Linked DNA regions of Homo sapiens: regions 1 and 2 are each linked to region 3. Evidence: promoter capture Hi-C in human tissues and cell types (Jung and others, 2019). All regions are on one chromosome and are shown on one strand. Each heading gives the region's core, a stretch centred on a gene start or on the middle of the fragment in contact. The rest is flanking DNA. Distances are from core to core; before and after follow the strand shown. Region 1 has its middle 11 kb from the start of MTHFD1. Region 2 has its middle 260 kb from the start of LINC02290. Region 3 holds the start of CHURC1-FNTB (CHURC1-FNTB readthrough).

The links. Contacts are between HindIII fragments. The study calls those that stand out against the background at their distance.
Region 1: a fragment that was not itself captured here is called in contact with the fragment with the promoter of CHURC1-FNTB in region 3 in 1 of the 25 tissues and cell types used here (aorta).
Region 2: a fragment that was not itself captured here is called in contact with the fragment with the promoter of CHURC1-FNTB in region 3 in 1 of the 25 tissues and cell types used here (heart right ventricle).

What each region holds. Positions count from the first base shown.
Region 1 is chr14:64,375,685-64,379,785 of GRCh38, forward strand. No RefSeq gene overlaps it. Among named protein-coding and RNA genes, the nearest start is that of MTHFD1, 11 kb to the right of the region's middle. The HindIII fragment of the contact is 3,754 bases long and covers 1-3,588 here.
Region 2 is chr14:65,848,766-65,853,099 of GRCh38, forward strand. No RefSeq gene overlaps it. Among named protein-coding and RNA genes, the nearest start is that of LINC02290, 260 kb to the right of the region's middle. RefSeq lists a silencer at 1,854-2,029. The HindIII fragment of the contact is 4,672 bases long and covers 1-3,797 here.
Region 3 is chr14:64,912,012-64,915,865 of GRCh38, forward strand. CHURC1-FNTB (CHURC1-FNTB readthrough) reads left to right here and starts at 2,350. Exons shown (of 14, transcript NM_001202559.1): 1 at 2,350-2,523. The coding sequence starts at 2,404. CHURC1 (churchill domain containing 1) reads left to right here and starts at 2,444. Exons shown (of 4, transcript NM_001386928.1): 1 at 2,444-2,523. The coding sequence starts at 2,485. RefSeq lists enhancers at 2,244-2,293, 2,444-2,713. The HindIII fragment of the contact is 18,830 bases long and covers 1-3,854 here.

The DNA.
Region 1 (4,101 bases), core at 462-2,961, 540 kb before region 3:
GGATTACAGGTGTGCACAACCACTCCCAGCTAATTTTTGTATTTTTAGTAGAGACCGTATATCCAAAGTGCTGGGATTACAGGCATGAGCCACCGCCCCCAGCCAAGTATGTAACATTTTTGAAATCACATTTTAGAAATGGAAAAGGGATTAGTGGTTGTCAATAGTTGGGGATGAGAAGGAAGTGGATGTGGATACAAAAGGGCTACCTGAAGGATACTTGTGATGTTAGAACTGTTCAGTATATTGACTAGTTATATCGAACTTAATACACAAACACACAATTGAATACAAGTAAAACTGGGGAAATCTGAATAAACTCAGTGGATTGTATTAATGTCAATATTCACGCTGTTACATTAGACTATAATTTTGCAAAATTTTACCTTTGGGGGACACTGGGCTAAGTATACAAGTGATATCTCTGAATTATTTCTTATAATGGCAAGTGAATCTACAATTATCTCAGTAAAATTTTCAATTAAAAATGATAACAGGCCATGAGCAGTGGCTCATGCCTGTAATACCAGCATTTGGGAGACTGAGGCGGGTGGATCATTTGAGGTCAGGAGTTCGAGCCCGTCTACATTTGCTTTGACAAACAGATTCAAAAAATTACAATGAGCAAATAATTTATCGACATGTACAGAGCTGCTTTTAAAAAATATTTTGGAATTCTTGAAACTAGCTTATATATTTTCTTTAAACAAGGTACCTACAATCTTTTTTGACAATTTGGTTTAAAAAGTTTTTAATGAATTATGCATAGACATAAATCTTAATCTAATCCAAATCTGAATTATCAAAAATTATAAACTTCTTAGCATTAGTAGTAAGTTAATACTATAGTAAGTACAGGGAAAGAAGAATGCTACCCATAATTAAATTGCTACACATTTCAGGGACTGGCATCACATTTTGCTGAAAGAAAAGACAAATGTAAGACATCTCTCAAAGGTATCATCAGATATATTGTGTTTATACAAGTTCCATTTAAGTTTAAGCTTTATTAGCTTTTCTATGCCAAAAGAGGGAAAGCATTAACATAAGTAAAATGGAAATATATATATATATATATATATATATATATATATATATAAAATCCCAGCACTTTGGGAGGCCAAGGTAGGAGGATCACTTGAGCCCAGGAATTCAATATCAGCCTGGGCAAGATAGTGAGACACATCTTTACAAAAAAACAAAGAAAAAAAAATAGCTGGGCATGGTGGCAAGCACCTGTGGTCCCAGCTACTCAGGAAGCTGAGGCAGGAGAATCACTTGAGGCTAAGAGATCAAGGCTGCAGAGATCCGTGATTGTGCCACTGGATTTCTTTTTTTAGGATCAGAGAATGGAAAAAAAAGCGGGGGGGCATTTAGAAACTGTGCAATGGAGGGGTTGCATGTAAGTGCGGTGTGTTTCTGCTGGGTGGTGTCTCCCAAAAAATCAAACAGGCCCAAAATGAGAGGAATTTTCATACGAAGAGGAAAAAATCAGGATTATGTGATTTGAGGAATGTAGAACAGGAGGCATAGGGCTTGACTTTCTTTTACTAATCCTGAAATCTGTTTTCAAATTCTTCTAATTCATTCTAGGTGTATTGGTATTGCAGGCAGCTATTAAAGTATAAATATCTCTAGGCTGGACGTGGTGGCTCATGCCTGTAATCTCAGCGCTTTAGGAGGCTGAGGTGGACAGATCTCTTGAGCCCAGGAGTTTGAGACCAGCCTGGGCAACATGGCGAAATCTCATCTTTATACACGAAAAAGCACAAAAATTAGCCAGGCATGGTGGCATGCACCTGTAGTCCCAGCTGCTCGGGATGCTGAGGTGGGAGGATTGCTTGGGCCCCTGAGTTCAAGGCTGCAGGGAACCATAATGGAGCCACTACACTCCAGCCTGGGTGACAGAGCGAGACCTTGTCTCAAATAAAATAAAATAAGAATAAAAAAAAAAATCTATAATGAGACTAGTCTCTTTTCTCATTTTCATTACTTGATACCTAAGAAAATTACTCTATTAATTCTTTTTCCAAGACCTAAAGAAGAAAATCAAAGAACTTAAATTTTAGTAGACGAAAATGAAGAATGAACTGTTTCTCAGTCCTAGAACAAGAATGATACTGGAGACAAAGTTCTTTATTTTTCAAGATGGAGTTTTTTGCTCTTGGCACCCAGGCTGGAGTGGAATGATGTGATCTCGGCTCACTGCAACCTCCGCCTCCTGGGTTCAAGCGATTCTCCTGCCTCAGCCTCCCGAGTAGCTGGGATTATAGGCACCCGCCAGCATGCCCAGCTAATTTTTGTATTTTTAGAGAGACAGGGTTTTGCCATGTTGGCCAGGCTGGTCTCAAACTCCTGACCTCAGGTGATCCACCCACCTCGGCCTCCCAAAGTGCTGGGATTACAGGCATGAGCCACCACGCCTGGCCTGACAAAGTTCTTAAGAATTTCATCCTTTACTTTTATTTCTATTTCTTTACCATTTTATGAAACTTGTGCTGTATTGACTTTACTTAATGAGTTTCACTCACACTGTCTCTAAGAAACAAGCTACTAGGGAGGCTGAGGCAGGAGAATCGCTTGAACCCAGGAGGTGGAGGTTGCAGTGAGCCGAGATCGCGCCACTGCACTCTAGCCTGGGCAACAGAGCAAAACTCTGCCTCAAAAAAAAAAAAAGAAAAAGAAAAAAAAGAAAAAAGAAACAAGCTACCGTGTGGGACAAAATATAAACCAAGAAGGATGAACATATAAATCCTCCAGTATAAGTTCAAGTACCATCTCCTCCAGGGAGTTTTCTTGATTCCTAAAAGGTAAGGGTAATCTCTTCTCTTATAGTATGTGATTTTCTTTTGACTGTTGTCTCATTCAATATTATACTATGTAAAAATCTCATCTCCTCTACTACATTAAATGTATCTAGGCCAGGGCAGTGGTTCATGCCTGCAATCCTAGTACTTCAGGAGGCTGGGGTGGGAGGATCACTTGAGACCAGGAGTTTGAGATCAGTCTGGCCAACCAAGTGAGATCCTGTCTCTATGAAAATTTTAATAATTAGCCAGAGGTGGTGGTGTGCACCTGTAATCTCAGTTACTTGGGAGGCTGAGGTGGAGGATGGCTTGAGCCAGGAGTTAGTCTGTAGTAAGCTATGATTGTGCCACCAGCCTGGGTGACAGAGTAAGACCCTGTCTCCAAACAAACAAACAAATAAAGGTACCTAAAAACAGGAGCTATTTCTGTTATCTTTATCATCCCATACCAGGCACAAAAAATATGGATCGTAAAATGAAAGAACCAAACAGGGGAAAAACCTTAATGAAAAACCTTAATGCAAAGTTAACTAATATAGATGATGATAGTGCTATTCTCCCAAACTAACCTTATAAAGATACAATAAAAATGTATTAGGAATCTAAAGTAAAAATAAAATATAGCACCGTTACATGATTATTCTGTGATTTTAGGTTTGTACATGACTACTTTATTTTTTACACACTCAAAAGATGTAGTATGCTATGCTGCATTTAGTAAGAAGTGAAAAGTATAAATTTTTACCACATCAGACTCTGGAGAAAATTCCAAATACAAGGCCAGTTTCCAGAAGAGACCTGAATTGTCCAACATGAGTAGCTGCTCTGAGCAATTTGCCTGTAGAATGTTTGCATATCAAAGAAGCTGTTGCTAGGTGAACACATCACAGAGGTACAAAGAAAAAGGACCTTCTAAAGTGTTACAGTAAAACCTGTAGCTCTGGCTGGGCGCAGTGGCTCACGCCTGTAATCCCAGCACTTTGGGAGGCCAAGGCGGGTGGATCACAAGGTCAAGAGATTGAGACCATCCTGGCCAATATGGTGAAACCCTGTCTCTATTAAAAGTATAAAAATTAGCTGGGCGTGGTGGCAGGCGCCTGTAGTCCCAGCTACTCAGGAGGCTGAGGCAGGAGAATCGCTTGAACCCGGGAGGCGGAGGTTGCAGTGAGCTGAGATCACGCCATTGCACTCCAGCCTGGGAGACAGAGCAAGACACCATCTCAAAACAACAACAACAACAACAAAAACATGTAGCTCTTTCTCCAATTAATGAAGTGAAAACACAAATGATTTT
Region 2 (4,334 bases), core at 212-2,711, 940 kb after region 3:
AAAAAATTAGCCGGGCGTGGTGGCGGGTGCCTGTAGTCCCAGCTACTCGGGAGGCTGAGGCAGGAGAATGGCGTGAACCCGGGAAGCGGAGCTTGCAGTGAGCCGAGATTGCGCCACTGCAGTCCGCAGTCCGGCCTGGGCGACAGAGCGAGACTCCGTCTCAAAAACAAACAAACAAACAAAAAAAACCTCACACTTCAATAAATTACATTTAAAACAAGGCTAATAGGTACTCAAAACTCATGACTTCCTAATGATTTGGCTGTATTTTACTATTGTCTATGCTCTTGGGTTTTCTTTGTTATGCCTGGTGAATCTGTCTGGAAATACTACTATCTGTGTTCATCTCTTCCAACACTGTGTTCAGTAACATTATGTTGATACCATGAAACCAGCTGTGGCGGGAACATTTACACTACTAAAAGTGGCAAACACTACAAATCAGGGCTTTTATGGTAGAGCTAGTTGTTAGACATTTACCAACACGCTCTTGGGGCTCATGTCACCTCTGAGGTGACACTGAATTGTGAATCCTGGCCAACATTCCTTCCACCATCTGGCTCATGTGTTCCCAGTTCTAAGCAAAATACAGTCAGAAAGAAGGTACTCTATAGTCGCTTCTTAAATTAAAAAAATGGAACACCAAAAACCTCATAAAATCCATTTCATAAGTGACTGTTAAGTATCATACTTTGTTTTGTGGGATTATGCTGAGGTTTCCACCTGAAACCTTTATTCCCGTGGCTAATGGAGACATCTCTATAAGGCTGATTTAATCCTTTCCAATACTTCTTATTTATTTTTCATAGTGGGCCCAGCCTAATAACTGTTCTGCCTGTTAGGGAGCTGCCTTCTGCAGCAGTTTTGATGCAACACCTTTCACCGACCCCTGGAGGACCAGACAGCCAGAAGTACCTTTGGTTCACACTGATTATTAGCAGCTTAGCATCTTGAGTGCTAAGCATACTCCCCTCCTGCTGGTTAAATCCCTTGTTTTTTTCCTCTTGGTTGCACTAAGATAATCGCTAAGTATTCATCACACAAGGGCAGTGTGCTAGGTTCTGCTTTGTCAGGAAAACAGGAAGTGTTTTTTTCACTAATGCTCAGAGCCAATCCAGCATGATAGGGATTTAATGAGAGACTGGAAAGAGCCCAGCAGACAGCCAGGTATATGATGAGAGACCTGTCCCCAGTCCACTGGAAGGCCAAAGCAGCTGATACTAAGGCCCCTATGACAACTGGTATTCTTGGTACATTTTTGAAGTTGCTGATATATTCTTTAAAAAAAGAAAAACAGAGATGAAAAAATGTACTGTCACTAAGAGTTTGGGGTTAAGTTTCTTGAGGCAGAATAGATATGGATCCAGCCATCCATTCCTAGATAACTAATCAAGCAGTACGAAAACCTAGGAAAAAGTCTGCTTAGGCTCTTTGAGATTCTCTTGCCTATGGACGGGGCTCTGGGGATAGCGGGTGCAGAAAGTGAAGGAGAATCCACCTGCTATTGGCTTGCTTCCTGTAGGGTAATGCTTGTCGTGGGTGATACCAAACAACGAGAGGTCATTTTCTATGAGGAGTTTATGTAACTGGATGAACCTACCATTGAAACTTTAAACAAGGCAACTGTTGGCCACCATGCCATCAGTGGTGATAGGGGTGAAGACACAGATTTCTTACCTCCAGTACATTCTACTCCCTCTAGTTTCTAAATGAGGTATCTTAGAAAAGAAAAAGGCATAAAAGGAATCACTGATAGCAACTTAGCACTTCTAGGCCCTGACTACCCTCCCCAGCTTCATACTGAGTCAGACTTCCGTGTTTCTCAGAAGGGAAAAAGAAACTAGAGCAAAGCCGCAGTCTCCTGCACAGCTCCAGGAACGTGCTACCCTTGACACCTGCTGTCCTATCCCGTTTTGGGGGGTGCGGGGTTGCCCAGCCTCTCTGTTTCTCTGCTGCTGTTTCAGAGACTCTGTAGTATGCATACTGGCTCCCCAAGAAAAGCCGAAGCAAAAGTGGTAATTTAGTGGGAGATCATATTCCACGGGTTGAGTCTCATGCTGTGTTGGTCCCATAGATGCAATTAGTTACCCGAACAGCAGAAAGCTTGTTCTGTTGTTGGCAGGTACTTTGGCACATCACCCATGGAACAGATGGCTACTTGTTCCACAAATTAGATTTCCAGATGATTGCATAAAAGTGTGTCATCCAGCCACTCCTTCCTTGCCCTTCCTGCCTCTCGGACGGATTGGAATGACTCTAGGTAAATGCACTGACCTTCTGCCAATTAGCCATTCCTCTGGGTGGGAGCACAGAGGAGACAGGGTCTGAGGGAAGCAGGGGAGTCCACTCTATGCAGACACTTAATTAATCTGCAATGTGCACATCGTCTTGCCCTTTCCCTCCCACCCGCATCCCAACTTTCCCAAATGATGTATGTACTGACCTGAAGGTACCTTGTTTCCCTTCAATCAGCCTTGATGGCCAGGTTGGAAGGGTTTTCTCTGCTCCAGGTCTACTCTTCTGAGTCATAATGCTGGGATGCAAAGAAGAATCCTGCCCCGTCGCTAAGGGGTGAAATAGGAGGGGACTTCTGCGGCAGAACTGCCCACCAGTCTCCTCCTGTCCCTGCACTCTCTTCCCAGAGGACTTACATTTACTCTAATCAGACAAGGGGAGTCCTTTCATCATGTCCCCTCTCTATCCCAATCTCATTGACCAAAAAGGGACCAATTCTGACTGGCCAGAAGCCAATCAGATTTCCTCTCTTGGAAAATGAAGACGAAGTAATCAGGCTGCTGACTGGGATCAATGCGCAGGCGCTAGAGTGATGGTCCAGGCACGCTTGCTGCAGGGGTCTCCAAATGGGCCCAGCTCCAGGGTCTGCTTGGTCACCTTCTCCTTGGATCCTCTTAATCCAGACCTTTAGAATAAATATCCCTTTATTTAAATTCGCACAAGTGGTTTCTGTAAGTAAAATGATTCCTCGCTTGTGCAACCCTTACCCTACTTTCTTCATCAAAGGACAGTCACAGAAACCATGTCACTGCCTTGACTGTAACTAGTCCCCAAATCCTGAAATGTCAGATGCCCACCACTGTGCCAGGCAAAACATTCCTGAGCCAGCGCCACAGTCAGGTTCAGTCATGAATGGAGTGGGACCGTATCTGAATGTCCCTCACCTGTGCTCTACCCACTAGCGTACATCACGTTGCTTGAGTCTTAAAACCATGACATCCGTGTTCTTTCCTCTAGTTGCCAAAGGGACCATGCTGAAGGGGCTGACCTTCTGTGTCTTGGGCTTACTCAGCGATGTTGGGGTCATCATACCAGTAGGGTTGGCTACTGATTGTACTGCTTGATTGTCTTGCCTTTACCGTAAGGTGGTTTAGAGTAGAGAGAAGCAGGGCTTCTCATGACAGAGGTAGCTTGGGACATGGATAGTCGTCCAGTGAGGAGGCAGCTGGGCTCAGGCGCAGAGCTCCTGGAGGCAAGTATAGGAAATGCCCTGTCAGCTGGAGAAGTCAGTCGTTTTGGTTTTATTTCTTTGGTTTGCTTGCTTTTGCTTATTTATTTTCTCAAAAATTTCAAACAAACCTGCCTGCCAGGGTGTGTGCCAGGAGGCCATTGGACTCAGTCTTTATAAAAGGGATGGTTATCTCTGTGGGTCTGATGAAAGTGACCTTCAACATTCCCTACATAGGATGGCAAAGGAGATCAGGAACATGACTCCTCGCCCTCATTCCAGGCTCTAGACTTAGGACCCCTGAGACCAAGCTCTTGTCTGCTCAACCAGTGACCACTGTCTGCTAGCTGCTTGGAGATAGTCCTGTATGGGCCATTGGGGCACTGGGGAGCTGCTGGTCTGCCTTAAGAGGGACTCGGGTGAAGCAGCATGTCTATTGTCATAGTGTATTTGGCCAGAGGCACACTAGGAGAGACTGACTGTGGGTGATGAACTTGTCTCCCTGTCTAGCATGTTCCTTCTGTACTTGGTGATCTGTTCCTGACCGTGAAGTCCTTGTCATGAATGTGCTAGGCCAGTTTGTTCAACCTCTTTGGCCAGAAATGTGTGAGTTTGTTGTTTACATAAGACAAGGCTGTGAGGTCTACCCGTAGGGAAGAGGCCAAGCAAACTGCAAAATGATCATTTCCAGGTGTGTCCAGTTTTAATGCAGACTCAGCTGCTTCAAGCAATCAGCCAGTACCTCTGCCACACCAGGTTAGCTGAGTTTCCAGCAGGCATCAGCCCTTGTTCCCATGGTCTGTGTTCATTTATCTTCTTTAACTTCAAGCTGACCTGTTGTTTTATTCTTCAAAACCCCTAGGACTTTATA
Region 3 (3,854 bases), core at 1,100-3,599:
GAGAATCGCTTGAACCTGGGAGGCAGAGGTTGCAGTGAGCCGAGACTATGCCAGTGCACTCCAGCCGAGGTGACACAGTGAGACTGCCTTAAAAGAGAGAGAGAGAAGAAAAAAAGACTAGCCCTGTCCAATAGGAATATGAGAGCTACATGTGTAATTTTTAATTTTCTAGTAGTCACATTAAAAAAGCAGGTGAAATTAATTTAATAATACATTTTTATTTAACCCAGTACGTCAAAAATTATTTCAACGTAATCATATAAATTTATTAATGAGATTCTTATATATTTTAATACTAAATCTTCCAAATCTGGTGTGCAGAATGTACTCACAGCACAATCTCAGTTCAACTTGCCATATTTAAAGTGCTTTATAGCCATAAGTGGCTAGTGCTACTGTATTAGAAAGAAATTGAGATAAGGATAGCAACAGAGTCCTAGCCCTGGCTGACTACTGAGTAGCTTTGTTACCATAGACAAGACCTTTAACCACTCACTTCTGTGGTTTCCTTATCTGAAAAGAGGAGACATATTTTTCTTACCAACCACATAGGATTGTAATAGCATAAAATTAGAAACTGAAATGAGGACACTTTTGAAAGGTTGAAAATGTCATACAAATGGGAGGTATTATAATTATTCTAAGAATAAGGTAAACTCTGATGGCTCTAGTTCTTGCAGTGTTTCTTAGCACACCTATGATTTTTAATAACAGTTGCAGATACTTACTAGAAGTTGAAATACTAAAGGTTACAACTTCAGTGCTTCCGTGGAAAAATAATTCCCATATTAGCAAACCCATTTAAACTGGTGTGCTTTGAAATGGTTATTAATCTCTTCTTTAAGGAATCTGGATCCCAGAGTCTCCCAGGCTCCCCAATCTTTCTTCCCTGACATGACAGCAATAAAGCAGGGCTGAGGGAGGATGTTGATGTTCCCATTGGGGTAGAGGAGTGTGATAAAGACGCATTGTTCAGAAACAGAGACAAACTTCGGAGATTCGTCTGCAAGTTAATTAGGTCGTTGCGAATAAATAAGATGCTTTCAATACAGAGAGAAAGGATGAGGCGGGGCAACAAGCACAAGCATTTTGAGACCCACAGGATTGGGAAATGATGCAGGAACAACTGACCTGGCCATTTTTCTTTCTTTCTTTCTTTTCTTGGAAGCACATATGTTTATTGGTTTTTTAATCTGTGAACCAATAGGTCATTTATAAATGGATGTGCAAATCTGAAATCAAAATATCTGCAGTCAATTCAATTAGATAATTTTTGAAATCTATTTATTTTTAATATACTTTAAGTTCTAGGGTACATGTGCACAACGTGCAGATTTGTTACCTATGTATAGATATGCCATGTTGGTGTGCTGCACACATTAACTCGTCATTTACATTAAGTATATCTCCTAATGCTATCCCTCCCCCCTCCCCCCACCCCACGACAGGCCCCGGTGTGTGGTGTTCCCCACCCTGTGTCCAAGTGTTCTCATTGTTCAATTCCCACCTATGAGTGAGAACATGCGGTGTTTGGTTTTCTGTCCTTGCGATAGTTTGCTCAGAATGACGGTTTCCAGCTTCATCCGTGTCCCTACAAAGGACATGAACTCATCCTTTTTTATGGCTGCATAGTATTCCATGGTATATATGTGCCACATTTTCTTAATCCAGTCTATCATTGATGGACATTTGCATTGGTTCCAAGTCTTTGGTATTCTGAATAGTGCCACAATAAACATACATGTGCATGTGTCTTTATAGCAGCATGATTTATAATCCTTTGGGTATATACCCAGTAATGGGATGGCTGATGACCTGGCCATTTTTCTATTTACATAGTGCTTGCCCGCCACTGAGGTGCTTCTGTGACACCTGAGAGAGATAGAAATACGTTCCTCGTTGCTATGTCCTCCAGAGGACTCTGGAATGACCAATTATTACTAATATTTTAAGTGTTTTTTTAGGAGATTTTCTGCAGCACTCTGAGTGTCTCTTCCCAAACACTTCGGTTACTGTTTATTCACCTGCTGAGATCTGGTCTCTTATTCACTCTCATTGCCTTAAGAAATGGTACAGAAATGTATTCATTAACATTTCAGATTTGTATATGCGGTAGCGAGAAATAATTCCCTTTCTTGTGTGTCGTGATTTGCCTTTCTTGTCAGCCTAAGCTCAGGAAGGTGTCTGTGAGAACTTCGCTCAGCCCAAGATCCCTTTCCCTTCCCGTCACATCTGTTAGCGCACAAGATTTCTTCGTCTGTCTCCAAAGGTTTCTGAAGCCCCACCCTTTGCCCACGCACGGTGCCAAGGAGACTGTGCCCTGCCTTGACAACAGTTGCTAAGGGGCGGAGACTTCGGCTCGGTTCCCGAGACGGAATACCCAGGAGTCGAGTACTTGGGCGCATGCGGCAACCGTATCTCAGTTCTCGCGAGGTTTCGTCTTCCCGGAAGCGTTGGAGGACATTCCCTGTTGACTGCGTCGCGATGTGTGGCGACTGTGTGGAGAAGGAATATCCCAACCGGGTGAGCGACTGGGCGCTCCCTTGGCCCGCGGGCGGCCCCCGAGGTGTCTCATATCCAAGGCTGGCCTTCCCAGAGAGGCCGTACGTGGGGCGGACTCGGCCGCACTGCCGGTCCCGGTGACCCAGTAGCGGTATTTAGGCACACCAGGGATGGCCTGTGGCGGTCTGCACCTCTGGTACCCGCCCTGGCGGCTGACCTCAGTTGTAGTGGCCGTTCTCTTGAGCTCCAAGGAGCAACAGAGGAACCCCACCACCACCACAACCCCCGTCGACAACCGAGGGACTCCCCCACCCCCACTTCCGGTCTCATCCTCAAGCTCGATTTGATGAAGTACAATTTTCTTACCGAATTCTAGCGCTGGAGGGGACCTCTGTGGTCATCTGTTCTAACACTTTTGCAGATGAAGAAACCGATGCCCAGAGAGGGGAAATCACTTGCCCAAGTTCACATTCTAGTTGCATGGATGAGAGCCAGGACTAGAATTTAGGTTTCCTGCCTGTTACCGCCTTCTGAATCTCAGTTACTTTCAGGTTCAGGAGTTTGCAAAGCTTGTCTATTCTCATTCATTCAAGGCATCCTTGTTGAACATTTATATATGTGTAGTTAGATTACTTTGCTAGGCCAGAAAGGGATTATTTCTCCTCTCTTTGAGACAGGGTGCTGCTGTTGCCCAGGCTGGTCTCAAATTCCTGGGATCAAGTGATCCTCCCGCCTTGGCCTCCGAAAGTGCTGGGATTACTGGCATGAGCCACCACGTCCAGCTGGATTATTTGTTTCAGAGAAGAAATTAAAAGGCACCTTTGGTGCTGCCTAACAGCTTACAGTTTTGGGGAGTATGTGACTAACAAAAAATGAGTAGCTCAGTTCAGAAATGCTATTCAAGTTTAGGGAAAGGGGAGGGCAATAGGGGATAGTGCTGTTCTCCCCTGAGAAAAGGTGGACATCATCTAAGACTTGAAGGACAGTTGTAATTAGGGTAGAAAAGAAGGTGAGGAGCTGGAGGATGGGGGAAAATTACAGAAATGGAATTTGTGCATTGGTTGGGAAGGAGGGAGAAAGTCTCTGTAGTTCCTTATGTCTTAGTATCTTATGGGTAATACTTAGGCTTTTGAGTAGCATGTATAACAGTATGAATTCTCCTGTAGTACAACTACTTTGAAAAAGCGGGTGAGCCTTATAAAATACAGACATGACCCAGTGATTCCCATTCTAGAAAAATGCATGTGTATATGCTTCTGAAGACTTTTATAAATAAGTGTTCATAACAGCATTATTTTTGTAGTAGATTGGAAAAGTAACTGATACATTCATTAGAATGGAACACCATTAAT